Regions from separate parts of the Homo sapiens genome. Here all the other regions are linked to region 3. The links are contacts of gene promoters, found by promoter capture Hi-C in human tissues and cell types (Jung and others, 2019). All regions are on one chromosome and are shown on one strand. Each heading gives the region's core, a stretch centred on a gene start or on the middle of the fragment in contact. The rest is flanking DNA. Distances are from core to core; before and after follow the strand shown. Region 1 has its middle 130 kb from the start of DSCAM. Region 2 has its middle 98 kb from the start of LINC00323. Region 3 holds the start of DSCAM (DS cell adhesion molecule).

Region 1 (3,432 bases), core at 77-2,576, 130 kb before region 3:
GGAGGCTTTGAATTTTTCCTGCACGTAGGCTCAAATATGGCTGGCAGCTTGAGAGGGAGGCCAGCTTCATGTCTGCTGAAGGGCTTCTCCCTGTAATGGGACTTAGTCTTTTAATCACTAGATTATTACAGAAAATTTTAATCTGTGTTTGTGTCTAGGTTTTTCCACTCCCAGCACTGTCAGAGAACTCAGAAGTCTCATGGGGAAATTGTTTGGAGATGACAATAGTTTCCAAGCCATCACTCTACCCACATGTGACTTCCCAAAGCCTACCAAGAGCATCCCTTAGTTTGAGATAAGCCTAATCTTTAACTGATGTCCAGAATTGGCAAATAATGCCAAAAGAAGAAAACAGCCAGCAATGACTACCTCACTAGAAGGAACTCTTCTGTCTCTGGGGCTTTAGTTCTTCTAATCTTTGGCTTTTCCATATGTCTTATTTCATTTGTTCTGCTATAGCAGAATACCTGAGACTGGATCATTTAATAAAAACAGAAATGTAATTTCCCACAGTTCTGGAGAATGGTCTAAGAACAGGATGCCGGCATCTGGGAAGGGCCCTCTTGCAGTGTTCTCACCTGGCAGAAGTGGAAGGGCAAGAGAGCAATAGTGGGAACTCACTCACATGAGCACTTTTTATAATGGCATTAATCACAATGGGGATTAAGTTTTCAACAAATGAATTCTGAGAGACATATACAAACCATAGCACTATAGCTTTCCAATCCTTTAAAAATATGGGTTGTGTAATTTATCCAGCTTAAAAAAAATTGTTGCAGTGGTGTTATTGGTCTGACATGCCCTAATACATCTTCCTGGAAGCAGAAGACATTATTACTTTTCTATAAGAAAAATTAGAATTCTTTCATTTTGGCCTTTGCCTATATGCACCATTTCTAGTGGTAGATATCAGCAGAACTGTCTAATCCTCCTTTATTGACTCATCACATTAGCTGGGAATATGCAATCATCACTACATGTTAAGTGTTGGATGTCAAAAGAGTAGAAATCCAACATTTATATTTCAAACTTTGAAAGGCATAATAAACATACATTCATTTATGGTTCTTATGGGCATTTAAGGGAACACAGTAGAAGAGAATTCAGTATCCATAAAGAGGAGCAGAAAGCACAATAAAAAAAAATTGCACAATATTACATGAAGCAGAAGAAAACTGAAGTATCCTGTGGGGCACTTTAATTAGAGCCCAGAAAATTGCAATTTCTTTAGAAACAACACAAAGAACAGGAAACATCCAGTGTAGATTCACAAAGGACTACTTAGAGGTATACCAAAAAAAAATTATGCTGGAAACGATAAACAAGGGAGTGAAACTCAGAAATGAAAGGAAAAAAAAAAGTTAACTTCAAAAAAATCTCAAAATGTTTCAACATGATATAATGCCAATTAGACCAAAACAAAAACAAACAAACAAACAAACAAAAAAAGACCGAAAAAACAAACCCACCAAAAAACCAAAAAAACAAAATCGGAAAACACCACTCTAGTTCCTCAACATCCCCCGCAAGGATGCGAGTTGTTAAATATTTGAGAAAATTGTGAAAACAATCAATGTGACTTCAAATTGTTTGTAGTGCAAGGTAGACAGATGACAGTAATGGTATGAGTCTTTGCAAACAGACCTTTGTTTATTTTTACGATTCCTTAGTGTTGAAATATCTGCTTGTTCAAAATATGAAATGTATTACACATATGCACGCGTATTTCTGAGTGTATGTGTGCACTAAAGCAAAGGCAGAATAATTGTGTGTCACTAGTTTTATACATAGATATGGCCACTCTCTTTTCTTTTTTCTTTTCTGAGACACGGTCTCTCTGTTTCCCACACTGAAGTGTAGTAGCGTGATCTCAGCTCACTGCAACCTCTGCCTTCTGGGTTCAAGAGGTTCTTCTGCCTCAGCTTCCCGAGTAGCTGGAATTATAGGCACACATTTCCACACTCAGCTAATTTCTGTATTTTTAGTAGAGATGGGGTCTTACCATGTTGGCCAGGCTGGTCTCAAACTCCTGGCCTCAGGTGATCTGTCCACCTCCGCCTCCCAAAGTGCTGGGATTACAGACATGAGCCACTGTCCCCTGCCAGGTACTCTCTTTTCTAAACATAATTGAGAATAAATAATCTGACATATGTGTGTGTACACTCAGGAGTCCTAAGGGACAAGTGTTTGAAATCAGTAATGTTCCAGAAAATTCAAGGCATACTGGGATGCTGTGTTGGGGCAGTAGAGAGACCATGGATTCCAGAGTCAGACTTGGATTCAAATCCTGGTGGCACCACAACAAATGGATGAGTGTGAACAAGTCATTAATCTTTCTGAACTTCAGTCTCCTCATGTCTAGAATGGGGATAATATCCATTTTCATAAGGTTTTGGTGGCAATTAAATTAGTAATAAATAAATTAGTGATGATAAATACCAAGCACAATGCTGGGCACCTGGTAGGCATTCCATAAATGATAGATCTGATAGTCATGTGGTGCACAGGGAACAGGAATTATCAGGCAGCAGATGGTAGAGGCATGGCTAAAAGGTGGTGTTTCAAGTTAAGAAAGAGGGGCAGTGGTAGAATGTGGACCTAATGAACTCACTAGGATATCAGAGATTGGGGAGCAGAGTTGGTAGATGGAGGAGTGTGGCACTGGTATTGCAAGAAAGCCTGGGTTCTAGGAAAAGAAGAAAGATGGCGACATGTACATGATGTAGGTTGAGGGGACTGTGATGCAAGTGTGGGGGACAGTGATTGGGCCCCAGAGGGGTCTCCCTGACTATGGCATCTTCCAGGTTTTTCTGAGACTTGACAGTGTCTTCTTATAATGCAGTCACAACAAATCTGGCAATCCAGGGATCCTACTTTGGGACCAGGTCTCTATTGTACCCTCCCATGAAGCCAATATAGTGTATAATCAATTAAAAAATTCATGTGCGATCTCTTCCACTCCTGGTAAAAGTCACTATGACTCTTGATGAATGATTCAATAGCTTCATCACCACTACTCTTAACTGTAAGATGAGGGGGTTGAGATCTTCAAAGACCTTTACAAGGCTTAAAGTCCATGCTGTCAAAATTGAGGAAATACGTGATTGTTTTTTAGAATAAGGATCAAAGTAAGAAAAGAACCATACAACTGATATGCAACAGGATGAAAGACAATTGCAAGTGACTACTGTGAGAATCAGAAGAAAACAATGCAGGGGTTATGGTGGGCAGCAAGCCAGATGCACATCTTCATTTGTGGCACTGCTGAGGGACAGAGGGCAATTGAGGGTGGGAGATGGGGAGAAGGAACAATTCTAATTTGTACAGTAAACTCAAATAACCCTTTTATGGGGATGGAGTTCAAGGAGGAAAAGGAGCTAACTTAGAATCTCTTGCTGCTAAGTAGGTAGAAATAGTGGCTCCTTCCTCCTT
Region 2 (3,192 bases), core at 439-2,938, 200 kb before region 3:
TTCTCACCCCTAGGGTGTTGTGTTGGGAATCGCTGACCTGAAAGAGTGTGCTTCGCTCTGCGCATCTCCAATATGTGCCTCTTCCTAGAGACTGGTGCCTGGGAAGATGAGGGGTCTGGGAACGGAGTCACTTGGGGACCTATGGGAGACTGGGCCTGCTCAGTCAACTCTGTTAGAGACTTGAGACCCCCATGAGCCACTGAATGTCCCACTGCAGTGATGCCAAAGACTCATCTCTTCCTTCTTGAATTTTTATCTGTTCTTGTGACCATGCCATGTGTGTGTACTGTGAAATTTATCACGTATCCTAGCCTTGCCAGAACTTGGGGAGGACTGTGTAGTCATTCTTGATATTAAAAGAACCAACTGCAAACATTACATAATTGTGAAGATGACCTCAATGAGTCTTATGCTCTGTGTGAACACTCCAATCCTATCACACCCTCATGATCTGGACATTTATTTTCTAAAATAACATTCTTCTGGCAGATTTAGGCACAATAAAGGTGGGAGGGTAGATGCATGCTCTGTCCAAGGGATGTAGCATCTGTACATTTCTATCTGTAACCGCACAAAGGGGAAGAGGCTTACAGTGCCTTTTGCTAGCATAGGGCTTGGAGATCTAGTACATCTATTGGGATTACAGGTTTGCAGTACCCCACAGCTACGGTTTCCTATCCAGTTCAAGTATAAGATGCTCTTTTGTATTTGAGCCAAAGGACTTTCTATCAATGGCTCTTGACTTGAGTAGATATGAAAGGCCTTTGATATTCTTAAAAGATATGTCTTGAGATCTTAATAAATATCAAAATTTTCTTATGCAATTACACATGGTTTTATCCAGGAAAAATATATGGTGGGCCGGTCAGAGGACAAAGCCCTGCTGAATTGTCACTTCACTTTTTTATTTTCTTTAACAGACAGAGTCTCATTCTGTTGCCCAGGCTCAAGTGTAGTGGTACGATCATAGCTCACTGCCGCCTTGAACTCTTGGGCTCAAGCAATCCTCCTGCCTCAGCCTCCAAAGCCCTGGGACTACAGGCATGAGTGACCGTGCCTGGCCCTACCTTGCTCTTCAGTACATACTGCACTTGCACCCAGGGACAAAAACTATGAAAAAAATGTGCAGTGTCACTAATCACCAGGGAAATGCAAATTAAAATGACAGTGAGATACCACCACCTTATTTCTGCAAGTATGGCCATTATTAAAAAGTCAAAAAAAAACCCAATAGATGTTGGCATCGATTTTGGGAAAAGAGGATGCTCACACACTGCTGGGAATGTAAATTAGTACAACCTTTATGGAAAACAGTATGGAGATTCCTTAAACAGCTAAAAGTAGATCTACCCTTTAATCCAGCAATCCCACCGCTGGGTGTCTACTCAAAGGAAAATAAGTGATGATATGAAAAAGACTCTTGCACACATATGTTCATCACAGCACAATTCACAATCGCAAAGATGTGGAACCAACCCAAGTATCCATTGACTAATGAGTGAATGAAGAAAATGTAGTATATATACACCATGGAATATTACTCAGTCATTAAAAGGAAGGAAATAATGCCTCTTAGAGCAACTTGAATGGAGCTAGAGGCAATTATTCTAAGTGAAGTGACACAGGAGTGGAAAACCAAAAGCTGTAAGTTCTCACTTATAAGTGGGAGCTAAGCCATGCATATGCAAAGGCATGCAGAATGATATCATGGACTTCAGAGGCTCAGAAAGGAGAGGGTGGGAGGGGGATGCAGGGATAACAAACTACACATTAGGTACAATGTACACGACTTGGGTGAGGGGTGCTCTGAAAGCTTAGAATTCACGACTATAAAATTCATCCATGTAGCAAAAAACTACTTGTACTCCAAAAGCTATTGAAATAATTTTTTTTTTTTTGAAAAAGAACTATTGCTTCCTGAGGCTGCCTCTCTTTCTCTTTAGTTCAGGACCTAGCACTAGCCAGTGGCTCGCTTTTTGGGTCATTTATTACTCTAGGAAGAGGAAAAGTTTAATCAGTTCACAAGAGCTGCTCATAAGTGTTGTGGAGAAGAGAATCAGCTGGGCTTTTGTGAATGGGGATATGGGTTGGTCAGCAGGCTTATTCTCAGGCAAATGATTTGCTCCAACATGCCAGCTTCCTACCTGGCATCAAAACAGGTCTCAGCAACATCACAAATTATCCTATGTCATGGACATGGGAAGTTAGGAAGAACAATTCAACTAGAATCTCGAATGAGGAGCAAATGTGACCGCTGTTATTTCTTCTTTGTTACTCGACATCCTGGGAATGTCCCCAGTTCCCTTGAGAATTAGTGGTCATACAGCAGCAAAGCTTCAGGTACCTTAAAGATAATCTTTTTATCCCATCTCATTCAGCAGAAGAGGACTTTGGGCCTCAAGGTTGTCATAACAAATCAGTGCAAGCACTCTAGCTCCACAATCCACTCATCTTCTGTTTCTTTATCTGTACGATGTCGTGATGGAAGAAGATTAGAGGTCATTTGTGTCACATGCTCGGAATGGATGAGACAGTCTATGGAAAAATGGCCCCTTCTAAAGCAGGATTTACACTAAGAATTCCTGAGTCCTGATGCTGGAGCTTCTTTGAAGACACAGCTAGGACAATAGCCCCTCTGTCCAAGCCTATGGGCCTTACCAGTGGCCACAGCCACGGGAAATGCTGTTCACACTGCTGATGACACAGTGGTACTGTCTTTCTAAAATCACCATTTTCCCACCTCAATTCTTTCTACATGGTCATTTTTGAAAACTCTAAATTCAGAGGGAATACTGCCATGTGTGAGTTATGCAAGTCGCACACATAATTTCCTTGCAGTGAGATATGAAAATAAAGTCTCTTTGTAATAAACAAAAAATATTATGCATAATTTCCCACTGGTCTTTTTTGTTAATTGGGCTCTTACTGTTGAAGCCTCTAATGTACAGAATAAATGAATAACTGGCTTTTATGCACAGCCTCCTTTCATTATGTACAAGGGCTCAAAATTTAAAGTGAGCTATTTTTAGATCTTACATTATGATATAAAGGATTGTTTATTGCTGGTAATGCAGGAAGCAAATTGCATTCCTGCTTCTGCCTGATTTCTCTGTGGTAGCTTATGCTGGCTTCCATTCTTGCTGATTCATTAATTACATCCAAAAAAGTCTCGAGTAAAGTCTGATCATTTTA
Region 3 (3,399 bases), core at 893-3,392:
CCCAGCTCTTGAGCAGCCTCTGCCCCTGCAATTGTTGCTGCTTCCCAACAGGGTGGCAACTGCATCATTTTGGAACAGCAAGCCTGTGTTCTGCCACCACCTGCCATCTCTGGTGAGTGTATGGGCATGTGTGCAGGACAAGCACTGTGCAGGAGTTCAGAGAAAGGCCTCGCAGTGACCATCCCCTCAGCAGGCTGGCAGTGCCAGGGCACATTCCACAAGTGGCCAGAGGCTTGTGCCCACCTCCAATCCAGATACCCAGAGCTTCCCAGCATGGAGGTTGCAATCCCTGAGGGATCTCCTGTCCACTGTACATTGGGACAGTGGGCTGTGGGAGAGAGACAGTGGCTTCCCCACCCCCTAACTGTGGCTGGCCACAGCATGTGGGTGCAGCCAAGGGCAGGGAAGCAACTGGCAAGTGGAAGCCTCTTGTACTGCACTGAGTCACCTGGAAGGTCTGTGGGGTCTGTACAGGGGTGCATTCCCACGCCCAAGGAAGAGCAGCATGTAGCAGAAAACACCATGACTGGTTGAGAGAGGCAGGAAGAAAGGAGGAAGTGTTCTGTTTTAGCACTTGTTATGGTGCTTCTTTTTCATTTTGAGAAAGGAGCTCTCCATTTTCATTTTATAGTGGACCCCACAAATCATGTTTCCAGCCCTGCTCCCAAACTCAGTAACAGTTAACCACAGCCATCGCTAACTACAGTGACCATGTGCTGTCAACGGATGGAAAGATCTTCACACCTCTGTGAGTTAAGAACTGTGATAATTTCCAGTCTGCATATGAGGAAATTGAGGCTCGAGTCACATGCAGAAGCCCCACATCGGGGTAGTGGAGGAGCTGCAATTCGACCCTGGGTTTCCCTGACCCCAGTGCCTGGGCACCCTTGCAGGTGGCTAGTGTGCAAGTAAGAATTAATGAATAGGTCAACCAGCCAGATGCAGGGACAGAATCAGGCCCATCCCCTGCCTTCCTGGGTTGCATTTGGGAAGGACCAGGGACTGAGCACCCAGCATTTGCAAAGCCAGAGGATGCTGGTTCTGGTGCGTGGTACTGGGGGCTGGGCCTGCGCAGCCTGAGTGGGCGGCAGCACGTGATCACCTGCAGCTGCAGAGCCGTGGTGAGCCAGGCAGCATCACCGGCTCAGCTGACCCTTCCTGGTACACAGGGCCTGGCCATCTTGTGCCCAACCCTGGTAAAGCACCATTTTGTTTCTGCCTCACCATTTGCTTCTCCTGTGTTTTGTGAGCTGTCTGAGATGTGCATCATTCTTCTGTATTTGGAGGGGGACATGGAGCCCAGTTAGGATACCTAGTGCCTAGGAAAAAGCCTACTCAATTTCCCTTGAAAATGTCTCCCTTGACCCCCACCGAATGCTTTTTTTCAGTCCTGATTGTCCTGACTGTGAGCATTCCATCCTGGCTTCTACACTGGGGTGCATTCCAGCCCTGTCGGTCATTATATTGCAAAGTGATGGATAGATGTACGCCCTTGTGAGAGCTTTAATTTAAATATTATCATGACTTCAAGAATCATACAGAACATTCAGGAAATGTTAACATATTGACTTTTCACAGAAACGTGAAAGGGGCTATATGTTTGGGATTACTCAAATTATCAGCAATTTCAATCAGCTTTTTTATGCGCCATTCAGAGAGCAAAATTAGAAGTGCTTGTGTTTGCATTCTACCATGTATTCAAGATAATTAAAAATTAGCCCGTGAAATCATAGAGATCTTTACAGTAGCAGCAAGGATTTGGAAGGAGCATTTCCCTCTAAGCAAATGAACTGGACTTTTCTGAGAGTAAATACGGAATCGGAATCCAGCTGCACATTTTATTAAAACTACGAGCATTTCATGTTCACCTCTCCGTGGCTGGCCACCTTCCGCAATAGTCACCCCGGCCATCCCTTATTAGCAACCGGCAGGAAAATAACTAAAAATAAGCAGCTGTTGAAATGATTATTTAAGCCTCTAAGAAATTCCTCCTGATGACTGTGCGTGACTGTGCGGTGGCTGCGCTCTCCCCGGTCCTGCCTCAGTTCGGCTGCACGTCTCTGCTGCTGCTTTAAGACTGCAGAGCGCCCCAGCGGCCAGAGGCAGGGGAGGGGTCCCTGCTCGCCTCCGCGCTCGGCTTCACTCGCCCGGCTCGCAGGCAGGGAAGGTTGGCAGAGGGATCCATGTGACTGAGGCCGGAGCACGGCAAAGATGAGCCTGCCCGCCCGCCTGCTGCCTGGATGCGGAGGGTGAGGGCTGGCGCACGGGAGGCCGCTGGCTGCGCATTCTGGGCGCCGAGTGCCCGGGATGAGCTCACGCCCGCGTCTGCGGCTCTCTCCACCTGCCGACCTGCCGGGGGCCCACTGAGCTGACGGCGCACCTGGGCTCCGGCCGCAGCGTGGGGCGCGGCGCCCGGGAGCAGGTGTGCAGGAGCGCAGCGCGCGGCGAGCGCAGCCCTCGCTCCGGAGCCCGGCCGCGCCGCGTGCCCGGGCGGCTAGGCAGCGGCGGCGGCGGCGGCGGGCGGCGGGCGGGCGGCGGCCCCCGGGCAGGTGCCGAGCGGCGAGCGGAGCCGGGCCGGGCGGAGCGCGGGGGGCGAGGCCGGCGCGTCGCTCGCGGGAGGCCGGGGAGCGGCAGGGGCATGTGGATACTGGCTCTCTCCTTGTTCCAGAGCTTCGCGAATGGTGAGCCTTTCGGTTTGTGATGAATTTCGTTTCCTTATCATTGACCGGGGGGGCGGGGGGGTGGGGGGTGGCATTGGATGCATGGGTAAAGTCTTCTTTCTTTTTCCGCTTCATCTGTGTTTAAAATTTCGTGCTTTTATTTATTTTTTAAATATCATATTTATTTTTTGGGGGAGAAGAGGTGGCAATGGAGAGGCCCGGGAGAAATTGCTCTGTAATCATTGGAAGGCGCTTACCTAGCCAAGTGACAGCTCAGAGCCTAACTCCAGTACTAGAGAGCTGCCTCATTCAGAATAAACCAGGTTTGGTGACAGAAGGAGAGACAGGAAGATTGCCACTTTGAATATTACAACCTGGAAAGGGATGTGACATTCCAAGTGCACGCAAGTGGAGGGGTCAATGAGGAACATCTCCCTTCAGATTCAATGCTTTTTGAGATTTTTCAAACACGTAATTTCATGCTAGTACAATGTATCTCCAGCACCAAGGAGGGCTTTAAGAATGTTCTGTCCTTCTATGCACCCCGTGCTGCTTCATGCTCCTCACAGTCGTTTATGTAAAAATATGCACTGATAAGCATTACATCATCTGAAATGTTGACAAATTAAAAAAAAAAAAACACCTGTATAGTTGTAAAAATGAAATCAGTGAATATTGTAAATAGCATACATTTCCTCATGCCCAGCCAATATTATATTTTGAAATGATTTCTTCCTGG

Evidence for each region. The method cuts DNA at HindIII sites, captures the fragments that hold promoters and counts their contacts. A contact is called where the count stands out against the background at its distance.
Region 1: a fragment that was not itself captured here is called in contact with the fragment with the promoter of DSCAM in region 3 in 2 of the 25 tissues and cell types used here (dorsolateral prefrontal cortex and heart left ventricle).
Region 2: a contact is called between a fragment that was not itself captured here and the fragment with the promoter of DSCAM in region 3, in 1 of the 25 tissues and cell types used here (H1 embryonic stem cells).

The regions. Positions count from the first base shown.
Region 1 is chr21:40,976,929-40,980,360 of GRCh38, reverse strand. No RefSeq gene overlaps it. Among named protein-coding and RNA genes, the nearest start is that of DSCAM, 130 kb to the right of the region's middle. The HindIII fragment of the contact is 4,912 bases long and covers 1-3,432 here.
Region 2 is chr21:41,048,256-41,051,447 of GRCh38, reverse strand. No RefSeq gene overlaps it. Among named protein-coding and RNA genes, the nearest start is that of LINC00323, 98 kb to the left of the region's middle. The HindIII fragment of the contact is 5,495 bases long and covers 1-3,192 here.
Region 3 is chr21:40,845,901-40,849,299 of GRCh38, reverse strand. It overlaps DSCAM (DS cell adhesion molecule), which reads left to right and starts at 2,142. Exons shown (of 33, transcript NM_001389.5): 1 at 2,142-2,681. The coding sequence starts at 2,639. The HindIII fragment of the contact is 24,098 bases long and covers 1-3,399 here.